Regions from separate parts of the Homo sapiens genome. Here region 2 is linked to region 1. Evidence: promoter capture Hi-C in 16 types of primary human blood cells and fetal thymus (Javierre and others, 2016). All regions are on one chromosome and are shown on one strand. The core of a region is centred on a gene start or on the middle of the fragment in contact, and the rest is flanking DNA. Distances in the headings are between cores, read along the strand shown. Region 1 holds the start of DDX56 (DEAD-box helicase 56). Region 2 overlaps CAMK2B (calcium/calmodulin dependent protein kinase II beta).

Region 1 (5,447 bases), core at 463-2,962:
ACCACTGGCTTTTAGTGCCTCAGGACCAGGGATGAGACACTAAGTGACAACTGTCCCACCCAAAACACCAAAGAATCCCCTAAGAAGGAGCATCAAGATCTTTGAGTGCCCCCATGTCTGCAGCTCCAGACACTTCCATGGTGCCTCTTACCGGGTTATGTAATATCAGCTCCTTGAGTGCTTGTACGTCCTCGTTAAAAGTAGCTGACATGAGAAAAGCCTGGTAAATCCGGGGCAAGTGACTGAAATGAAAGAATCCAATCAGATTCCAGCTCCAAGGGCCGCTAATTGTAGTAACTGGCTTCCAGCCACCCCGCTCTCGTCCCAACTCCTACTCACAGATGTTTCCACTAGGAATCACACCCACCTCTGCCTTACCAGAGGAGACTCTTGAGCTCTTCTTCAAAGCCAAAGGAAAAAAGAAGGTCAGCTTCGTCCACCACCAAAAGCTCCAGGGAGTCACGAAGTTTCAGGCTGTCTTGCTGCAAGTGGCTTAATATGCGAGATGGGGTCCCTACTACCACATCTGGCTTCTCCATCAGCACAGCTCTGGAGGTGGACAAGACATCAGTATCAGGCAGAATGTAGCAGCTGGGATCTCACCCTGGATTTGCTCTCTTTTTTGCCACACACAAACCCAACCCCACAACACTGTGTAGCTTCATTCAGGTACAGCTTTGCTGCTTTTACCCACCTCTGAGAGACTGAGTCTTCAGCAGCTGAGACATTGGCCACTCGGACATCCCGAGCACAGTAGGTAGCCAGCTGCTGAATCATGGACTGTGCTTGCCGTGCCAGCTCCTTGGTAGGAACAAGAACAAGGCCTCTCACTGCCTGTTCTACCACCGGACCTGTCTGTAAGAATATGAATTAAAGACTTTAGCCAGCAGTGCACATCACTGTGTCCACGTGTCTCTACCCCTTCCAGCCTACCTGACCCATCTGCTGCAACACTACTTAGCAGTACTTTGATCATCTATCACTCTGCCCGCCTCAGAATGCAGAGTGGAGAGTTCTTTCCCCAGGCACTGACCCTCAAAAAGAATAACGTACTCTGATGTTTATGAAGCTACTTTAAATATACTAGTTATGAAGCTAAATTCTCACAATAATTCTGTAAGTAGAAAAGATAGATGTGCTCCCTTTTTATGTAAGAAAGAAAAGAAAGTGCTTTGTCGAAGATTACGCAAAGGTTGGTGGTAGCAGGGCCGGACAAGGATCCAGGTAACCTGAACTCCAGCCCAGAGTGTTTGCCACAACAGCACCAGGTTCTCAGGCCGGCCTGCACGGGTACAGGGCCAAGAGAAAACCTCAGACAAACGGGAACCGCCCTTCCCAGGCTTTTGGAGCTTGCCTCCTTCCTCCCCTCAGCTCTCTCGTTACCCACCGCCTTCCTATGGAGCAACAGCTGCAGCATCGGAATAGCATAAGCGGCCGTCTTCCCGGAGCCCGTGCGGGCCCGAGCCAGGAGGTCCTTCCCTTCTAGGGCCAGTGGGATGGCCTTCTCCTGGATCAGCGTAGGTCGCGACCAGCCCAGATCGGTGACAGCCTAGGAGACCAGGAGTGCGGTTTAAGCGGCGTGAAGAGCGATGGCGCGCCCCGCAGAGCCCGTAAGCCGGCTCCCCAGCCCTCGCGTGTACCTGAAGGAGCCGGGGATCGAGGCCCATGTGTTCGAAGCCCAGTGCTTCAGAGTCCTCCATGGCGCTGCTCAGTAGCGCAGCACGCACGCGCTGCAGGAAAAACGCCACCGACGCGAGCGGGAGCAAAGCAACAACCAATCGGCTTCGGAGACGAAGTCACTTCCCGGAAGTGCTGGCGGCCTAGGCTTCCGGTACTCGGACGGAGCTCTGCGACTGCGCAGTCCCTAGGACTGGGTCTAGTAGGAGGCGGTGGAGCGGCCGTGCTGGGGTCGACGGGGTACTTTGGACTACAGAGCCGCTCCACTGGCTCTTCCGGCGTTCCCGGACGCCGCTGACGCACCTGATTCTCGCGACCTGCAGGAGAAGCCTCGGCCGGGGCGAGGGCCGAGGTCGTGACGGGCATGACCGTCTCTCTGCTTGGTTAGGGTTAGTGTCCCGCCGGGCACATCACCCTATGAATGGAGCCACTGAGATAGACTGGGCTGAGGAGAACCGGTTGGAATAATGAGCCATGGCAGCAACTGCCTGAGAGAGAGGACCGGCGGGTTGCTGTAGGGCTCCCTAACCGGACTGCCTGTCAGAAACCTGCACAGCTTGGTTTCTGTTCTTTGTGTCCCAAATCTGACTCGGGTCACCAGTTAAGACCCGTGTCAGACTTCTGACCTACAGACTTGCGTCGTTTTAAGCCAGTAAATTTGTGGTAATTTGTTACAGTAGCAATAGGAAAATAATACAGGTGAGGACTAAGAATCCTAATCACAAATCTTTTTTTTTTTTTGAGACATGGTCTGACTGTCACCCAGGCTGGCGCGATCTCAGGCTCAAGTGGTCCTCCCACCTCAGTCTCCTGGAAAGCTAAGACTACAGGCACGCACCACCACGTCCAGTTAGCGTGTATGTATGTATGTACGTACGTGTGTGTGTGTGTGTATGTGTATATATGTAACTCCTCCTCCCCTCCCCCCTCCCCTTCTCTTCTTTTCTTTCTAGATGGGGTTTCGCCACGTTGCCCAGGACGGTTTTGAACTCCTGGGGCCAAGCGATCTGCCTTCCTCGGCCTCCCAAAGTGCTGGGATTGCAGGTGCGAGCCACTGCTCCTGGCCCATAAGTCTTTCAGTGTAGAAGAGGGAAGCAGAAGAGGTCAAAGTGGTGCCATGTGAGAGCTCAACCCACCCTTGCTGGAGGAAGGGAGCCAGAGCCAAGCTGGAAAAGGCAAGGAAACAACCTTTGTGATTACATTAGGCCCATCCAGATGATCCAGGATAATTTATTTTACAGTCATCTGATTAGCAACTTAATTCTCTTCTGTCATGTTAGGTAACATATTCATATGTTTCAGAGTGGTAGGCCATTATTCTACCTACCATACCACCCAACACAAATCTACATTAAGACTATATCTGAGTGTTGCACAGGAATCTATGTCAACAAGCTTCCAGGATGATCCTGTGCATCCTATCTGATGCAGCCCAGCATCTGAGTACCAGAGACTAGCATCTGGCTGTTAGGTTAGGAGAGATCAGCTCATGCACCAACAGGTAGTCATGCTGGGACCAAATGATGAAGATAGGTACAACTAGTCCCAGTGAGAGCTGGGGAATTGGGCTGGGATAATAGAGGATGTTAAGAATGGAGTGTCCCCTCAACCCCAGAACTTTTTTTTCTTTTTTTGTGGTAAGGAGGGAGAAGGCTGTTTGGTAAGGATGTTGTAAACTCTGAGAAAGCAAGAATTTCAAAAGTCAAGGGTAGTATTGGGGGGAAAATCACTAGAATTTGTGTGTGTGTACCCTAACTACTGTTTTGGTTTTGTTTTTGTTTTTTAGAAGGAGTCTCACTCTGTCGCCCAGGCTGGAGTGCAGTGGCATGATCTCAGCTCACTGCAAGCTCCACCTCCCGAGTTCACGCCATTCTCTTGCCTCAGCCTCCCGAGTAGCTGGGACTACAGGCACCTGCCACCACGCCCGGCTAATTTTTTGTATTTTTAGTAGAGACAGGGTTTCACCGTTGTTAGCCAGGATGGTCTCGATCTCCTGACCTTGTGATCCGCCCGCCTCGGCCTCCCAAAGTGCTGGGATTACAGGCGTGAGCCACCGCGCCCAGGCCCTAACTGCTGTTTTTTAAAAAACTTTTTAGGTCACAACCTATCTGTAAATATGACACACCAGTATGGAAATCCTTATTCTTCTCACAGCCACCAGCTATTGGCCCATCCACTGACTATCCCAATTCCACCTGCCTTATCAGTGGAAAGGTGAAATGTATGCCCACTTTTTCCTCACACCATTCCCCTTTCTATCAAAAACTACCAAGAGAAACCCAGGACCTACCAAAATAGTTAAGATGTGCTCCACTGTGTCTACTGCCAGCCAAACCTGTTGAAGGCTGGCTCAACCCTAATCTGTGCCTTCCTGTCTTCTCACAAACGTAGTCTGATTTGCTGGCTAGATTTCTAGTAACAGCCACAGAGCAGAAATGTGTCCCTTCCCAATATGTCACATAATCCCCAAGAGCCTCAGGCCAGAAGTCCACAACATGTAACTAGTTCAAAGGATAAAATTTTTCTCTGCATTAATTCTAACATGAGGAATACTGAAAACTCTTTTAAACATCTGAAGAATTTCAGCAATTCACAATTCACCTTACTGGAGTGTTACACTGTCATCCAGATTTAGAAACAGGAGGATATAAAACTATTAAATGGAAAAGCCTAGAGAACTAAATTGCATTTTTTTTTTTTTTTCTGAGACAGAGTCTCCCTCTGCCCCCCAGGCTGGAGTGCAGTGGCTCGATTTCTGCTCACTGCAACCTCCTCCCGGGTTCAAGCGATTCTCCTGCCTTAGCTTCCTGAATAGCTGGGATTACAGGCACACACTACCATGCCTGGCTAATTTTTATACTTTTAGTAGAGAGGGGTTTTCACCATGTTGGCCAGCCTGGTCTCAAACTGCTGACCTCAGGCGATCCCCCTGCCTTGGCCTCCCAAAGTGCTGGGATTATAGGCGTGAGCCACCCCACCTGGCCCTAAATTGCATTTTTTTTTTTGTTTTTTTTTTTCAGATGGGATCACTGTTGCCCAGACTGGAGTGCAGTGGCACGATCATGGCTCACCGCAGCCTTGACCTCCCGGGCTCAAGTGATCTTTCCACCTCAGCCTCTCAAGTAGCTGGGACTATAGGCATGTGCCACCAGCTAAATTTTTTGTATTTTTTGCAGAGACAAGATTTCGCCATGTTGCCCAGGCTGGTCTCGAACTCCTGGGCTATAGGGATCCACCCACCTTGGCTTCCCAAAGTGCTAGGATTACAGGCGTGAGCCACCGTGCCCAGCCCACATGTATTTTTAAGAGTAAAAATAGCCAGGCACAGTGGAGTATACCTGTAGTACCAGCTACTTGGGAGGGTAAGGTAGGAGGATCACTTGAACCTGGGAGCTCAAGGTTGCTTTGAGCTGTGATGGCACCACTGCACTCCAGCCTTGGGGACAGAGCAAGACCCCATCACCTGTGCCCGGCCAGCTCACACCTGTAATCCCAGCACTTTGGGAGGCGAGACGGGTCACCTGCGGTCAGGAATTCAAGACCAGCCTGGTCAACATGGTGAAACCCTGTCTCTACTAAAAATACAAAAATTAGCTGGGCATGGTGGCGGGCGCCTATAATCCCAGCTACTCGGGAGTCTGAGGCAGGAGAATCTCTTGAACTCAGGAGGTGGAGGTTGCAGTGAGCCAAGATTGCACCACTGCACTCCAGCCTGGGCGACAGAGTGAGACTCCATCTCAAAAATAAATAAATGAATAAGATAAAATAAA
Region 2 (5,447 bases), core at 1,733-4,232, 280 kb before region 1:
TATTATTTTTAACATATGACATTAACTTGGGAGACTGAGGTGAGGGCAAAGACCATGGGCTTTTTGCCTGGTCTGGCTTCAATCCTGGTTAGACGGGGTGACACAGCTCTCTGAGCCTCAGTTTCCCCATCCATATGACTGAGCAGAAGAGCCTTCCGGGGCCACTGTGTGGCTGTTTGCCGGACTTCTTGCTCAGGAGAGGTAAGAGCTTCCCGAAACCAGTCCTGAGCTACCATCTGTCACGCTCTGACCCCTAGAGGGCTCAGCGGCCACAGGGCTGACGTGGCAGGCCTCCACTGAGTGTTCTGGACCAGGCCCTGAAGGGAGCAGGGAGTCTGGGCCTCCGTGCGCCAGAACGCAACCACACACTGCAGGGTTGACCCTCAGTAGGAAGTTCAACAGACTGCACATCTATGCCAAGCTGATGATGCCCGTATGGCACCGCTGTGTCGAGCCCGTCCCCGGAGCAGGGAGGAGACCCAAGCGCAGCTTCCCACCAGCACAGCAGGCTCCCAGCTGCTGGCCAGACTCAGACAGGTACCGGAGCAGAGGGCGGCAAGCCACAGCTGTTCCTCAGCACACGACATCCATGCACCATATCACCAAGAGCCTGACCGCAGGTGGGTGGGACAAGGGCTTCCTCCAGTTGATCCCTCTCCCCTCCCTGGGTCAGGCAGCCCCTTTCTCCTCTGCAGAAGGCTCCAGAGCCGCCCCTGCACCATCAGCCTAGGTCGGAGCAGTCAGCAATCGGGGAAGGCGGGGGCAGGGAACACAGGTAAGACTGCCAGAGCCAGGGGGCCAAGGCCAGGCAGCGCCGCTGAGGAAGGAGGAAGGCATGGCTGGGGGCCTCGGGATGAGTGTGGAGTGGGAGCACCAGGCCGCACAGCTGTAGTGACATAGGATGTGGCAGGCACAGTGCCAGGCACCCAGCAGACACTCAGCAGGAAGGGACCAGGGGTGCAGGGACCAGGGGTGCAGGGCCCGGGGGTGAAGAAGGCCCTGCTCTTGGACACAGGCCTGCAGGTAGGGTGGAGGGCACCCTCAAGAATAGAAGACAGGGTCCCCTTTCCCAGCGACTTGGATGCCCCCAGAGGGAGAAGGTGGCCAGCTGGGGGAAGGCGCAGGAGGGCTGGCTCCCAAGGACACCACTGCTCCCTGCGCCCCGCTCCTGGGCTCTGCCTCTCCCACGCCTTCTGTCCCTCACTGAAGCCCCAAACCTTCTCTGAGTCCCAATGTCATCGCCGCCCCCCAATTTTCTCCCTCTCCTCTCTCCTCTGGGGGACTTAAGGAATGTATGCTTAAGTCTCCCACCCCAGTTATTTGCCCGCTTTACCCACCACTTCCCCTAAAGAGCACCCTGAAAGGTGCTCCTCCCCATAATGGCTGTCCACCCGCACCCATCCTGCCATCTCCCCGGGGAACTTGGGCTGGCAGCTGCAGATCCACCTCTGTCTCCTCCCCTTCCTGGTGGTTCTGCCACTTGCCAGACGGCAATCTGTCACGGGAAGCCCCCTTGGAAGTGTCAGCCCTCTTGAGAAGTGGCCACAAACATGTTTAGCATGAGCCATGCAGGCCATGGCTGGGGGCCCAACATCTCTGACTTCTCCAAGAGCAAAGAAGCCAGCACCATCACCATACTCCCTTGCGACTCAGTGCTTGCCCGCCAGTGTTTATAAACATTGAGAGACAACACCGACAAAGAGCCTGGATCTGTATCATAAGCCTGTCCCTGCTGCCAAGGGCAAACTCCTATGCGTCCTTCAAGATCCAATGCAAACAGCTCCCCGCTTTCCCAGCTCACACAGAAAGTCAGCTTGGTCTTTAGATATTGCACCTCCCACGTTCCTTAGGTTAGTTTACTTAATTATCTACCTGTTCACTTTTGCCACTCCCCCTTCCAATGGCTCTCTATGGGCAGAGTGCCCTATACTCTGGACCTAGGTATCAGGCACAGTGCCTGGGCTGTGATATAGGAGCCAGAACTGACCTACAAGCAACACAGTGGGCTGTGGAGCATGGAGTTGCTGGGCCTCAGGGCTTGTCCAGCCCAGCAGTACAGGAAGAGCGGCCCCTAGAGTGTCCCAGCAGGAGGGGAGACCCACCAAGGCTTCCAGGGCCTGTGGGTAGATGGGTCTGTGCTACACTGAGGCCACAAGGCCCTGGTCAGAGCCAGGGGGTACCCCAAGTAAATAAGGCCTGGGGCTTAGGCTCCCCGCCTCTCCACCAGCGCACAGAGGCTCGAAGCCCGGTCTTCTTATCTGGAAGCACGGGCGGGCCTAGCAGGCGGCAGCATGGTCCTTGGGCTCAGCAAAGAATGCCTTGGATGACACTGCAGGTGCATAGGCTGATCACACGCCTGCCTCTAGGGTGTGGACCATCCCAGGCAGCTGTAAGGGCACAGCGGGTTGGGGCAAAGGCAGGAAAAAGCCGGAAGAGGTGCTCCTACGGGATCCCAGGTCGCTGTTCCTGTGGGCTGCGAATTGCATCTAGACATCAAGGTTGCCCGCATGATGGCCTGCATGGGACGAATGCTACTGAGCCAGGCTGAAAGCGATTTTGAATAACCTGTTCAGATCATGAGGCCCCCGGGCACCAAGCATATTATGGGGCTTTTAAAATCAAATAAAGCTAATTAAAACAAGAAAATACTCTTTGAGTCCTTGCTTTGTGGAAGGCTCTGAACCCTGTCTCATTTACAGTGGGATCAACAGTACCAGGGAAACCTGTCCTGAGAGAGAAGGGGAAGAATTAGTTCTGGGTGGGAATGGAGGCCCGGAACTACATGGCCTGTTTCTACGACTGCACCTGCTCGGGCACCTCCTTCATTGCAGGGGGGCTCAGGCTTCTCGCGCGATAATGGGGTGAAGGCCACCTGCGAGGAGAGGTGCTGAGTGTACCTCCCCTGACTGCAGCCACCCAGGGCAGTCGGTGTTTCACAGGCATCCTGTGGGCTCTCGGGGCTTCACAGGCAGAGGCAGCAGGAAGCGTCATTGTCTGCAGGATGCCCCATCCGCCTCTGTCTCCTCCTCGCATCCAGTCTATGGCTCCTCTGGCTCCACAACAGACTGCTGGTGCAGGCCCAGGCTTTCCCAGCTCTGAGCTGCCCCCCCAACCCTCGTGCCTGCCTCTTCCCTCCAGTCCCCACTTGCAACCGGCCACCAGTTGCTGACTATCCGTGGCTCCCACCAACCCCCACGGAGCTCCCCACCGCAGGTGGCTCTGTGGCCTGCCCCACTCTCCACTAAGTCATGCTGGTCGCACTGCGGCCCTCGCCAGCTGCCCGCACCTCTCCCCGGAGAGCTGGGAGGAGGTGTGTCCCTGAGCAGCATGGCTGGAGTTTGTGGGAGGGCCCAGAGAGCAGGAAGGAAATTTCGCCTTGCCCCCAGCAGGACCACACAACAGCCCCTCTAGGGCCCTCTCATGCCTCACCTTCACTGGTGAAGACTGGGGGTTACCAAGATTACCGGCTCTTGGGGTGCCAGTTAAGACACTTGGTAACGACACCAGGGAGGGAAGGTCGGACCCTGCGTCCCCACAGCCTATCCCGTGTGGTCACGCAGACCTTGCTCAGGTGCCCTCCCCAGCCACCTCACAAGGGCTGGTGACTTCCATCAGTAAGGGGGCAGTGATTGTCCCCCTACACAGAATGAGGTGACACAGGTACCAGCCACAACACAGTATCCGGCATCCAGAAAGAGCCGGCAGTGTGATTCTGCTCCCAGGACAGCATAGGCAGGGACCCAGGCGCCTGGAGTGATCGTGCATGTGATCCCCATGACAGGCTGCTGAGCTCCCGCAGGGCAGCGCTGGGCCACGCAGGATCAAAGCGGCCTCTGAGTCGGCCCACTCAACGCTTGGATTCCGTTCCCTTAGTGGAAATTTCAGAGGCAGCAGCTTCTCTCCCTGTTCCTCTCTCTGCCTCCCGCAGCCCATGTCCACACCATCCAGTTTCCTCCCCAAGTGCTGGGGCCTGTGCCACCCCAGCCAGGGCTGCCTGCATCAGTCCTGAGCCTCACCGGTCGGTTGCAGTTCACAGGCATGCGCACACACACATGTGCACTCTCCTCACTCAGATGTTGCAGAATAGGCTGGAAACGCCCCCTCAGATTCCCAACAACAGTGACAGCCAAGGGCCATGGGACCCCTTCAATCCACAGCAAGGCCACACGCAATTCCAGGAAGTTCTTAAATTTTAGAATTTTAGAAAGAAGCTGAGGAGCCCTGAGTAAAAGCAAAAGATCCAAGCCTGGCTGACCTGTTTTGTAAATCGAAATTTCCCATCCAGTTTTTGCGTCTGACGCTCCCCACGCGGGCCAGGCGCTGTCTCCCTAGTAGCAAGCACAGCCCCCTCCCCGCTCAGGTCCTCCAGAGCAGGTCCTTCTGGAAGAGTCTGGGCCGGCCACAGAAGCACTCTCAGGCCGACAGCTTTATTTCCTGCTGTAAATTAATAAAGGGTTGTTCTGAAACCAGCCTCAGGCCACCTACGTCCTTTCTTGCCTGGCTGGCCCCAGGTGGGCTCCATGAGGAGGCCTGGGCTAGGGGCTGGGGACACCCCAGCAGGCACAAGTCCGCTGACCTCATGCGGACCTTTGTGTTTTTCTTGTGTGGGTGAAACTAAACCAAATTGGTATTTATTTGTGTGTTGGCTTAAAAACACAGTTCCCAACTTTGATTAAAATGAGCTCTTGGGAGTGCCAGAGGGGGAGGTCTTTTATATTCTAATCTTGACCTAAGCAATTTGGTGGAAACAGTAACTTTTATATGAACAGAGTGCTGAGGTTGTTGTGGGTTTTTTCTTTTGTGTATTTTTCTGCTTATGATAATACAAAAACAAAACTCACGTTCACAGTAGATGGAATGTATGTTTGTATTATTGTTACGTTTACAATGTTTGCTATGGAGTAAACAAGAGGGTCTACAGAATGCGTTGACGTTGCCTCCATAACCCACAACACGGTCAGTAGGGCCCATTGATGTTTGGATGTGTGCAAGTGTGCAGCTCTGCACCATGAGGAGGTGTCTTCTTACACAATTAGGGGGCTCTTGTTGCCACTTTCCACTTTCTCCTCTCACTATGTCCCCCGCGCTGTTAATGAAGCCTCAACAGTGTGATCTGACAGTTGCATACTTCTTTGCTCATGGATACTGTCCTGTGGATGCCTGCTTGGTATTTACTCCTCCCCAGCCTCTCTGGCCCTGGGGTTCCGCCAAGTGGGGAGAGTGTTGGGGTTCCGCCAAGGGGGGAGAGTGTTTGGGCTCCTGAGGAGTTTCGGACAAGCAGGTGCCCCGCCAGGCAGGAGCTGGAGTCCCCAGGCCCAGAGTAACATCCCACAGGGAGGCGGGTGGCCATCCTACCGCCCCACTGGCAAGACGTCCCCCAGGTAGGTGCAAGCCGAGCTCCCAGGGCTGTGTCGTCCACTCCTGCCCAGGGCCCAGGCATCCTGGGT

Evidence for each region. Contacts are between HindIII fragments. The CHiCAGO score rates a contact against its expected background, and 5 or more counts as called.
Region 2: a fragment that was not itself captured here is called in contact with the fragment with the promoter of DDX56 in region 1 in 1 of 17 cell types (endothelial precursors); the score reaches 5.8 in endothelial precursors.

The regions. Positions count from the first base shown.
Region 1 is chr7:44,572,196-44,577,642 of GRCh38, forward strand. It overlaps DDX56 (DEAD-box helicase 56), which reads right to left and starts at 1,713. Exons shown (of 14, transcript NM_019082.4): 1 at 1,641-1,713; 2 at 1,388-1,549; 3 at 695-855; 4 at 379-549; 5 at 152-242. The coding sequence starts at 1,700. RefSeq lists an enhancer at 1,330-1,479. The HindIII fragment of the contact is 6,359 bases long and covers 1-3,070 here.
Region 2 is chr7:44,286,005-44,291,451 of GRCh38, forward strand. The region is part of intron 1 of CAMK2B (calcium/calmodulin dependent protein kinase II beta); the gene reads right to left. Among named protein-coding and RNA genes, the nearest start is that of CAMK2B, 37 kb to the right of the region's middle. RefSeq lists enhancers at 2,603-3,245, 3,942-4,443. The HindIII fragment of the contact is 7,022 bases long and covers 1-5,447 here.